4 separate regions of the Homo sapiens genome follow, and all the other regions are linked to region 3. Evidence: promoter capture Hi-C in human tissues and cell types (Jung and others, 2019). All regions are on one chromosome and are shown on one strand. The core of a region is centred on a gene start or on the middle of the fragment in contact, and the rest is flanking DNA. Distances in the headings are between cores, read along the strand shown.

Region 1 (2,858 bases), core at 44-2,543, 540 kb before region 3:
CCTTGAATTCAATTAATTTTCTAGGGTAGCTCATAGAACTTGGAAACTTACATTTACCAGTTTATTATAAAGGATATTACCAAGGATGCAGATTTAGAGATGCATAGTGCATGCAGCTTCCATGCTGTCCTGGGCGTACCACCCTCCAGAAGTCTCCAGGTGCTTAGCTATCTGGAAGTTCTCCAAACCCTGTTTATTTATTTCTATTTTTATTTTTAATTTTTTTTAATGGAGGCTTCATTCAGTAGCCATGATTGATTAATCATTGGCCATTGGAGATCAGCTTAACCTTTAGCCCCCCTCCTTTCCCTGGAGGTTAGCGGGTGGGGCTGAATATCTTAAACCTGTTATCATGCCTTGGTCTTTCCAGTGACCAGCCTCCATCCTGAAGCTACCACCTGGGGGTTGCCAGGCATCAGTCAATCATTAGCATATGAAAAGACATCACTTCGGAGATTCTGAGGATTTTAGGAGTTCTATGCCAGAAATCTGTGATCAAAGACCAAATATATATTTGTTGGTTTTCTTTCTTTTTGAGACAGAGTCTTGCTGTGTCGCCCAGGCTAAAGTGTGGTGGCATGATCATGGCTCACTGCAGTTTCAACCTCCTGGGCTCAAACAATCCTCCCACCTCAGCCTCCTGAGTAGCTGGGACCACAGGCACACACCACCATGCCAGGCTAATTTTTGTATTTTTTTGTAGAGATGGGATTTTGCCATGTTGCCCAGGTCTGTCTCGAACTCCTGAGCTCAAGCAGTCGCCTGCCTCAGCCTCCGAAAATTCTGAGATTTCAGGCGTGAACCACTGCGCCCAGCCCAAATATATATTTGTTAATATCACAGACATTCATCCCATTCATGAAGGCTCAGCCCTCACAACCTAATCACCTTTTAAAGGACCCACCTCCAGATACTCTCACATTGGGCATTGGATTTCAAGATAGGAATTTTAGAGGGACATAAACATTCAGACCATAGCAGATCTCTTTACTTAGGTTAACCTTGTTTTAGTATTACAAAAAGCACTTCAGTGTGTTCATTCATTGTATTCAAAACATATTTATCAAGAAACTACTATGTTCAAAACACTAGGATATGGCTGTGAACATCTAGAAAAATTACCCACTCTCATACCATTAACATTTCTCAAGGGAGTCGGATAACTAACAAATAAACAAGATTATTGTGAATTGTGACAAGTCCTAGAAGGAAATAAACAGGATGATGAAAGACAGTAAGTGGGGCAGGACACTTTAGACTGGATGGTCAGGGATAATACAAACCTCATTTTATGTGTTATGGAAGGTAGTGTGTTTGAATGGAGTGAGAGAAAACTAGAACTGAAGTCCAGCTTTATCACCTTGTATAAGTTTCTTAACCTTGCTGAACACCATGACAGGCTGAAAATATAACAAGAACATAATGATAATAATCCCTACTACTTATAGTAGTAGCAGAATTAAACCAGAGAAAACTCCTGGCATTGTAAGCATGACTTTCTGCCAGGCCCCACATAAATATTAATTTCCTGTTAACTTTCCTAAAATTACATATAATCTGAATTCTGTAATACCCATTTCCAATGATATAATTTTAAGAAACTGTTCTATACATCTTCAAATCAATTTAATTCATCAAATATTTATTAAGCACTTACTATGTGCCAGTCTCTGGTGACCTGATGGTGAATAGAATAAACAGTATCCCTGCCTGGTCAGGGTTTAATTATTGTTCTTATTTGGCTGAGACTCACAAAGCCATTTCTGTCCACTGGTTCTCCTGACTAGTAGTAATGAATTTTTACCCCACTGCTATGCACATTTTATGTTAAACTTTTTTTTGTTGTAAAATAAAATAAACATTTAAAAAGGTTCATAAAACATAGGCCATAAATCTTAAAATCTGATGGACCCTCTCTTACAAAACCCTATATACTTATTTATGTGTCAGTACAAACGTCTACCATTCTGCCACTAAAAATAACAAAGAAAACAGAAAAATAGAAGATAATTTTTTTTTTTTTTTTTTTTTTTTTTGGTTGAGACGGAGTTTTGCTTTTTCACCCAGGCTGGAGTATGGTGGCACAATCTCAGCTCACTGTAACCTCAGCCTTCGGGTTTCAAGTGATTCTCCTGCCTCAGCCTCCCGAGTAGCTGGGATTACAGGCGCCCGCCACCACGTCAGTCTAATTTTTGTATTTTTAGTAGAGACAGAGTTTCGTCATGTTGGCCAGGCTGGTCTCAAACTCCTGCCCTCATGATCCACCCGCCTCAGCCTCCCAAAGTGCTGGGATTACAGGGAAGATAAATTTTGTTGTTGTTGTTGACAGAGTCTCACTCTGTTGCCCGGGCGGGAATACGGTTGCACAATCATGGTTCACTGAAGCCTTGACCTTCCAGGCTCAAGCACTTCTCTCACCTTAGCCTTCTGGCTAGCTGGGACTACAGGCATGCGTCACCACGCCCAGCTATTTTTTCTATTTTTTTTGTAGAGGTAGAGTCTGTTGCCCAGGCTGGTCTTGAACTCCTGGGCTCAAGCAGTCCTCCTGCCTTGGCCTCCCAAAGTCCTGGAATTACAGGTGTGAGTGACCATTCCTGGTAGAAGATAAAATCTGTGACCACCGTTTGGTGTCTGGACAGCCTTGTCTCTTGGGCCTGGAGGGGTAAAGCAGAGTCAGTCACGCAAAGTCACATAACTGGCAGAGACTCCTTGAATTTAGAACAGTTTGTTTAACCAAGTGGAAGTTGTTTTTTTTTCTTTTTCTTGGCTTATTATTTGCCTATAGCGGCAGTGCCCATCTTGGGGCAGATCCAGGTTTCACAAAACTTACCAGGGAGACCTGGCCCCATAGCTCTGGA
Region 2 (2,700 bases), core at 41-2,540, 510 kb after region 3:
TGAAATCAGTTATGTAATAGGGTTCTGAGTTTAAAGTCGGGTTTGGGTTCAGGTCTTTACCTTTGTCTACCACTTGCAAAGCTGGCCTTTAGTGTTCAAAAGTCCCAAGACTTCTGAATGTTTTCATTGTAGCAATGATAACTGGTGAGAATTTAGGGTGCTTTGGTTTGTAAGCACCAAAACCACCAGTATTACACAGTTAAAAGCTTAAATATTTTGAGTCACTTAAATTAGACTTCAGAATGTGTTGTAAAATTATCTTAACAGCAGGTTTGTGCTTTTCAGGTGGATGAGAATGGCAAAATTAGTCGCCTTCGTCGAGAGTGCCCTTCTGATGAATGTGGTGCTGGGGTGTTTATGGCAAGTCACTTTGACAGACATTATTGTGGCAAATGTTGTCTGACTTACTGTTTCAACAAACCAGAAGACAAGTAACTGTATGAGTTAATAAAAGACATGAACTAACATTTATTGTTGGGTTTTATTGCAGTAAAAAGAATGGTTTTTAAGCACCAAATTGATGGTCACACCATTTCCTTTTAGTAGTGCTACTGCTATCGCTGTGTGAATGTTGCCTCTGGGGATTATGTGACCCAGTGGTTCTGTATACCTGCCAGGTGCCAACCACTTGTAAAGGTCTTGATATTTTCAATTCTTAGACTACCTATACTTTGGCAGAAGTTATATTTAATGTAAGTTGTCTAAATATAAGCCAGTTTGTGTTTCTGTCCATTTCTTGACCTCAACACAACAGACATTTGGGGCCAGGTAATTCTTTGTTGTGGGGTGCCTGTAATCCCTATGCTTTGGGAGGATCACTTGAGTGTCCAGGAGTTCAAGAGCAGCCTGGGCACCATAGCAAGACCCCCATCTCTGTAAAAAAAAAAAAAAAAAAAAAAAAAGTAGGCTGACTCCTATGGTCCTGCCTACTGGGAAGTCTGAGACAAAAGGATCCCTTGAGCCCAGGAGTTGTAATTAATTATGCATTGCATTTCAGCCTGGACAAAACCCTGCTTCCAAAAAAAACAAAATGCATCCTCAGTCTCTGGGTGTTTCAGTGGAATGCTTGCTGTCTGTTGTACAACGCTTGGGAATTTAATGTTTGTTCAGGATGGATCCCTATAAAGGAATGATTACTTATTTGTACTGTTAACAGTAAAAGACAGTTTAGTTTCAAGCAGGACTGGGGTAGCCTATCTTCCTTCGGAGCTCAATTCAGGGAAAGCTGGTTCACTTGATAAGCCTCTTAACTAAAGCATACACTTGAAAGAAATCGGTGATGTATAAATAACAATTCACTTTTACCATATTGCCAGTCTTTCCATTCAAGGATTTCTAGTTGGAGGCATCCTTAAATAAGGTTTCCTATTTCTGAGCACTTTGACAGTTTGTGCAAATGCATATGAACACATGGTAAAACAACTTAGATACTTTTTGGCCAGTAGTAGTGCATTTCTACCTTCAAACAAACAACACGTTGAGTTATTTACATTTTTAATGTAATTTTAAAATCCTGGATCCCAAGAAGTCTTGGCTTGAATTTGCTTTTCTTCATAACAAACAATTCTGTCTCCCACTTGAAATTCCATATTGTCTTCATCTAAACTGAGACCACAATCCATTCCCGTTTTGACAATTGAAATGTCATCTTTATGGTGTTTCAATGAGGTTAATGAGCCTTAAAAAAGATAATTTAAGGTTAGTATATTCAATAAATGATAAGTACCTACTAAATACTACATTATGTGGTGTTAACCAGGAAATTACACTGAAATTCTTAAAAATTTTATGGTCTTGTCAAGTTAAATGATGGGACTAAATACCAGGGGAACCCCCTCAAAAATGAAGTTTGCTGTGAATAAGACTTGATTTGTAACAAAATAACCTAAATCTCCTATTTCAAAGGTAGACATAAACTTTTTGCTGAGGACAGGATGGTACTCAGGACTTGAATGGGTAAAACCAACATACATCTCAGGCAAAGGGAACCCATCAACTACAGACAATTTAGGGGTTTCAATAGCAATAAGAAATGGCCTGAGCTGAGATTATGGGCATGAAAGATGAACAGATTTCAGATGGTTATATAGTCAACAGGTCTTGGTGACTGGATATGCTATTATAGGAGATTTTGATGTTGCTTACCCTTCCAAATTACATGTCCATTACGGGTTAGTTTAAATTTTTTTTGTTTTTCTAACTGTCCCTTTTGGACTCTGCAGCCAGCCACAGGAACTTTTTTCTTCCCTTCTGTTACAGAGAAGGTAGCTAGTATAGATGCCTCACCTTTAGGAAGAAGAGAACATTAATGTGCAGAAAACTAAAGATTCTGATAAATACGTAATTTCTGACATTCTGTGGTATAAGAATTAAAGGTATGACAAAAATCCAAATTCATGCCTAGAAAAAAGTCTGGGTTTCTTTAACTCCAATTTTATTTTCCTGACCAATATTAAGAATAAAAATGAATGAAAATCTTTGGCTATTCTTTTCCTTTTCTTTTTTTCTTTTTTTTTTTTTTTTTTTGAGACAGAGTCTCACTCTGTCATCCAGGCTGGAGTGCAGTGGTGTGATCTTGGCTCACTGCAACCTCCACCTCCGGGGTTTAAGCGATTCTCATGCCTCAGCCTCCCGAGTAGCTGGGATTACAGGCGCCCACAACCACATCCAGCTGATTTTTATATTGTTAGTAGAGACGGG
Region 3 (2,868 bases), core at 131-2,630:
AGGCGGAGGTTGCAGTGAGCCAAGATCACGATATTCTAGCCTGGGCAACGGCCTGTTTTGTCTCAAAACAAAACAAAACAAAAAGAACAACAAAAACTTACTGTCTTTATATAATTCATTTGGCACTGTTTTATGGCACGACATCATTGATCAACTATATTTTTGCTTCTATCTCAAACCTTTCTCAGGCCGTGTTTTTGTTTTTGGCAGTGTTCTTGTTGCCTAGCACAGTGCCATCTCACTTATTTGTTGATTCTGTTTCCTTAAAAACAAAGATGAGACCAATTCAAATCCTCATTACTGCGGGCAGCAACAAATCATCCAAACTCTGGCACTTCCAGTTCTTTCGAGCTTTCCTACCAGGTCGGAGGGTTGTCTTAAAACTTGAGGGAGATGAACTGAGTAAGCGATTACACTGAAAGCATGGGAGGGAAAGGACGTTCCAAACGTCCAATCCATCATCCTTTTGCAGCCTCTTAGTCACTGGGATTTTGAAATCTCTTTCCAAAGACTAGCTATGGCCCTAAATTGGAAATAGGCTACTTGAGAACACAGTGGATTCATAGTTCATCTCGGGCAGTTTTAGGAGAAATGCCACCAGCTTCTGCGTTTGAAGGCCAAGGTTAGCTGTTCATGGCGTGAGCACCTTCCTGCTTCCAACCTCCGGTTATCTGTAAATACCCAAGTCCTCTAATTTAGGACGCAGGTCATGGGAAGACGCTGGTTCTTAGGGCAGAAGTGAGCTCACATTCCCAGCATTTTTCTTAAACTTGGCAGAACTGCACTTTAACAAATTAAAATCCATGTGAATGAAAAGGAAAACTTAAGTAGGAAACAAACTTAAGCTTGAGTCAGTTACAGCATGGTGAGGATGTCGGTTACAGCAACACTCAGAGACCGATGAAGGAGAAATTCCAGTGGTGGGCTGGGAGACCGTCTCCATTCCAACTCCACCGCTTTTCTCTACAGAGACCCACGCACGCCAGCTCCCGCCTCAGTCACAAGGGAACGCCCGCGTGGGCAGGCAATCGTCCTTGGTGAGCCGGGATCTCCTCACCCCGAGAGCCGCAGGCTCCGCTGACGCCGGTACAGGTCTCGCTGCGACTCCCTCTGGGCGCGCGGAATCCTGGGACTTGTGGTCCCTTCCGCGCGCTGTCCGCCCTAACCGGCGCAGAGAGGACTACACTTCCCAGGATGCGTCGGGGGAAGAGGCCACAGGGACAGGCAGAGGGAGGGGGCGGCCCCAGTCCTCCGGGGCGTCGCTGTTTCCAAGCGGCGAGATCTCGCCTAGTAACCGGCAGCTGAGGTTCACTAGCGCGGCGTTGTGGCCCCGCCCCCGGAGCCCCGGCTGGAGGAAGAACCTGTCTCCCGCGGCGCCCCAGTGACGAAGTCCATCCCCGGGTGCGGGAGGCGGGGAGGGGAGGGCAGGCAGAGGATTTCGCTCGCTCGCCCGCGCGGGATCCGGGACGCGCCGGTGGCGTCCGCTGGCAGCAGAGGTTAGAGGCAGAGAGCGCGCGGATGCTCCGCGGGCGAGGCTGGTTCGAGAGTGGGAGGAGTGCAGGGCGCCGCCAGGGCGGCAGTGCGCGCGGGCCGAACAGTCCTGAGGGCGGGCATCCCTCGCGCAGCGCGCCGACCCCCGGGACGTGTGCGTCTGTGGGGGGTTGCTGTCCCCCGGGTCCCTCGGGCGACCCCTCTCCACGCTGGGCTCAGGGCAGGACCCGGGATTCCGTGGGACCCGGTGTTTAGCGCAGAGGTTTCTGGGGAGAAGTACACGATTTTTGCCACTTGTTATTTGATTTCTCCTCGACCAGGAGCGTTTGTAGGTAGCGCACTCCCTCCGACTGCACTAGTGCCTCGTTTCTTCCGAGTAAGACAATCTTTCATGATGCGGATTGGAGTTGCTGATCAATGAGAGCTGCTAAGTTCTTTATGGCTTTCTCGGTGAAGAGAAGGTTCACGGAGGATATGATTATTAAACACACACATGAAAACTAATTGGAGCATCTAAAAAATGACCATTGCATATTCGCCCTCGCTTATTAGGGAAACAGCAAGCGTTCCTTCAAATCGCATCAGCAACTGCCAGGCAGCAGCATTTACGCATATTTCATATCATTAAGGAGATGGAACTGGAGAGAGAAAGCGGGAGTAGGGGACAATTTTTAAAAATACCCAACTTGGTTTAGTTTGGGGATAATTTTCTTGGATTGGGTGACTTATGCGAAAAATCTGTTTCTTTCTTCCTCGCTCTCGCTTCCTGGATATAGACTGTCAATTTCGGATCCAAAGACGGCGATGGCAGAGCTCACCCGGGTTGCCTGTCAAATCAAGGCTATCGCAGAATAAATCCCGCCGCCTGCCGCGAAGCCCCGGCGCACCGCAAACTTCAGTGAGCGAACTGGGTGATCGCTGTTGGGATATGCAGATTCCTGATGTAAAAGGCGGGGTGGCCCCCCCGAGAGCCTCTCCCGGGGGCCGGAGCCCGCAGGTGCAGTGAGGCGCGCGCGCCGGTGCCGGCGCCCCCAGAGCCGCCTTGCCCGGGTAGAGGGAGCCCGGCGCCCGGCGGGGTCTGGCGGCCGCACACCGGCGGCGGCGGCTTGTCTGCGGCGGCTGCAGCGGATGATGGTGGCGGCCGGCCCGCTGGGCTGTGCCTGTGTGTCGCCGCGGAAATCAGCGCCCTGCGCCGCGCGCTGAGCCCCTGCAGGTCCGCCGCAGCCCCAGCCTCGGCGAGGACGGCCCCGGCGCGCGGGGGGGCGGGGGGCGCGCGGGGTCGGCTTATCATGGCGGATCGGACGGCGCCCCGCTGCCAGCTCCGGCTGGAGTGGGTGTACGGGTACCGGGGTCACCAGTGCCGCAACAACCTGTACT
Region 4 (2,865 bases), core at 208-2,707, 520 kb before region 3:
TGTCAAAACTGGAATACTCTTCTAATACCCCCTTTTTTTTTTCAAAAAGGATAAGTGGTGATTTACTTTCTGAATGCTTATAAATATAAAATTTCTTCCAATCACCTTATAGATTATATTAAGCTTGTCCAACCCACGGCCCAGGATAGTTTTGAATGCAGTCCAGCACAAATTCACAAATTCATAAACTGTCTTAAAACATTATGAGGTTTTTGTTGTTGTTGTTGTTATTGTTGTTTTTAAGACGGAGTCTCGCTCTGTCACCCCGGCTGGAGTGCAGTGGCACGATCTCGGCTCACTGCGACCTCTGCCTCCCACGTTGAAGTGATTCACCTGTCTCAGCCTCCTGAGTAGCTGGGACTACAGGCATGTGCCACCATGCCCAGCTAAATTTTTTTTGTATTTTTAGTAGAGACGGAATTTCACCATATTGGCCAGGCTGGTCTCGAACTCCTGACCTCATGTTCCGCCCACCTCGGCCAAAGTGCTGGGATTACTGGCATGAGCCACTGCGCCCGGCCATGGGATTTTTTTTTTTTTATGATTTTTTTTTTCAGCTCATCAGCTGTCAGTAATATTAGTGTATTTTATGTGTGGCCCAACGCAATTTTTCTTCTTCCAGTGTGGCCCAGGGAAGCCAAAAGATTGGACACCCCTGGATTATATCTTGCCTGGACACAAGATTCTTGGAATGCAGTCCTTTTTTCTTAAAAGTTTATATACTTATTCTAGGTTCCAGTGTGGCATATGAAAGGTCCGATGCCAGTTGTCATTATTTTGCTTTTATAAGTAAATATCCTGTTCTTGCTGTCTTGAAGCCTAAAAGACTTGTTCTTTCTAGTTGGAGTTTAAAACTTCACCATAAAAATGTGAAGAATGTGTCTTTTATTTCCCTTATAACTGCCTGGCATTCGGTGAGCTCCTTTGATCTAAAAAACTCAATTCTTTCTTCACTTCAGGGTTTTCCTATTTGATTATTGCTTCTGCTCTTTTCTCTCTTGCTGGAAATGCTATTTGCTTATTAGGCCTCCTGAATCTGTCCTGTATGCCTGTTATATTTTCACCACTGATTGACATTTCATTATTTCTGCTTTGTGATGTGATAGTTCCTTTGCTTCATATTCCAGTTTACTAGTTTGGTTTTTAATACCAGCCATTCATTTTACATCCTTTTGGAACTTAAGCCCCAGAGTTCATGTTTCTCATAGGCACCTTCTCCTTGAGTTTTCGTAGTTATTCTCCTTGTGTATCCCCTTAAACATTCTTATTACATTTTTATTGTTTCTTCCATTAATTTGGCTTTTGTAAAAGTTGCCTATCTCTCCATTCTGGTTTCCCTCCTTTGAATTGCTAAGTCCCTTAAATGTCTACAAAGTTTCTTTGCTTTGTTAGGTCAGGGAGTATGTATTCTCAAGCACCTGCATAGGCATGGTGGGTAAAGTCTGTGAGGCCATGGTGGATATTGCCAGTAACCCATGGGAGCTGGTCTAAAAAATTCTGAGACAGCATCTGGGCCTAGAGAGGGAACCACCAGAAAAAGCAGTCAGCATCTGAGATGATGCCCGGAGAGAAGCAGATAGACCATCTGCAAGGAAGAGAAGGCTTGGTTTCTTAGAGGGTGACCTACTGTTTTCTGTTCTTGTCCTTGGTTTCTCACAAAACCTTTGCATATCCTCTTATGACATCAGTATACATTCTCCTCTCCCCGCCTACTCCTATTATACATCTACCCTTCACCTCTTTGAGATGGCTTGAGTTGATCTGTCTTCCCAGATGAGGCAGCAGTCACATCCTGTTGCTGTGAGGTATTTTCAGCTCTTCCACAAAGGGCCTAGATGGTAAAGACCCATCTCTTCAAAATTCTTTCTATAGTGACTTAGATTTACCTTCCCAAGTATCTCCTTTTTACCAATGTCTTCCAAATATTTTCATTCCTTTATAAATCCCTTTTCTGAAATACTCCTCCCCTCTACCCCTCTGAAGTTCAACTTTCTTCTCAGAGCCTTTAGTCTACACAGATTTACCAGAGTGTTTGCATAATTGGGTCAGGATATTCATCTGCAGCTAATTTTGCACTTTTAATGTGATACAAGCTTTGGTTTAGGGTTAATTTGTATCAATAATTATGAATAATGTACTTATCAAACATAAATTCCTTTTTTGAGTGTATATATTTCCTGGATATTTATGGCCATGTTCTCTTTAATAATTCCTATATTTATCATTCTAATTTACTTCTATTGCCTAGTCCAAGGATCATTCTGCCTAGTACTGATTCTGCCTAGTACTGATGCATTCTTTTGAGAAGGAATAAAGTTACTGCATTATTTTAATGTAAGCTTGCTTTTTGATGGGGCATGCACACTGCCTCCTCACCCTCTTATACCTGAAACTTTCCATATTTTTGTTAATTCCCCTGTCCTTGAAGACATTTGGATTTTAAGTTTGGGGCCTTGGGCTCAGTATATCGTTGTAATTTATTTGTTTGCAAATAATTTTCTTAAATATTCATAATGAATGACATTGTGCATTAGAGGCAGATACCATGAATTGTAATTTAGATCTGTTATTTACCACCATTGCTGGTCGTGCTTGGAAAACTACTTTGAATTATTCTCCTATCCACTTAAAATTTATTTTCAAGTCCTGTGATTCTAAAATGCTTTTATTCAGATTATGTTATCATATGTTCTTGTTTAATTAGGTTGCCTGTCACTTTGCTAAAGGTCTAATTAGAAACGATATCTCTATTGTGTTTGATTCAGAATGAATGTACTAAAAGGCACTTTGAAAATAAGATAATGTCCTCGATGATGATATCCTTTATTTATGCCAGGTGCCTATTAGTATTTTGTAAACTCTCCA

Evidence for each region. The method cuts DNA at HindIII sites, captures the fragments that hold promoters and counts their contacts. A contact is called where the count stands out against the background at its distance.
Region 1: a fragment that was not itself captured here is called in contact with the fragment with the promoter of EML6 in region 3 in 1 of the 25 tissues and cell types used here (dorsolateral prefrontal cortex).
Region 2: a contact is called between a fragment that was not itself captured here and the fragment with the promoter of EML6 in region 3, in 2 of the 25 tissues and cell types used here (dorsolateral prefrontal cortex and hippocampus).
Region 4: a contact is called between a fragment that was not itself captured here and the fragment with the promoter of EML6 in region 3, in 2 of the 25 tissues and cell types used here (dorsolateral prefrontal cortex and hippocampus).

Annotation. Positions count from the first base shown.
Region 1 is chr2:54,180,038-54,182,895 of GRCh38, forward strand. All of the region lies in intron 3 of ACYP2 (acylphosphatase 2), which reads left to right. Among named protein-coding and RNA genes, the nearest start is that of ACYP2, 66 kb to the left of the region's middle. The HindIII fragment of the contact is 6,996 bases long and covers 1-2,858 here.
Region 2 is chr2:55,235,143-55,237,842 of GRCh38, forward strand. It overlaps RPS27A (ribosomal protein S27a), which reads left to right. Exons shown (of 6, transcript NM_002954.6): 6 at 286-711. The coding sequence ends at 435. It overlaps MTIF2 (mitochondrial translational initiation factor 2), which reads right to left. Exons shown (of 16, transcript NM_002453.3): 15 at 2,146-2,286; 16 at 1,453-1,678. The coding sequence ends at 1,506. Among named protein-coding and RNA genes, the nearest start is that of RPS27A, 3.8 kb to the left of the region's middle. The HindIII fragment of the contact is 5,067 bases long and covers 1-2,700 here.
Region 3 is chr2:54,722,282-54,725,149 of GRCh38, forward strand. It overlaps EML6 (EMAP like 6), which reads left to right and starts at 1,381. Exons shown (of 42, transcript NM_001039753.4): 1 at 1,381-1,496; 2 at 2,268-2,868. The coding sequence starts at 2,781. RefSeq lists an enhancer at 914-1,133 and silencers at 1,274-1,763, 2,435-2,584. The HindIII fragment of the contact is 12,546 bases long and covers 1-2,868 here.
Region 4 is chr2:54,203,772-54,206,636 of GRCh38, forward strand. The region is part of intron 3 of ACYP2 (acylphosphatase 2); the gene reads left to right. Among named protein-coding and RNA genes, the nearest start is that of TSPYL6, 51 kb to the right of the region's middle. The HindIII fragment of the contact is 3,733 bases long and covers 1-2,865 here.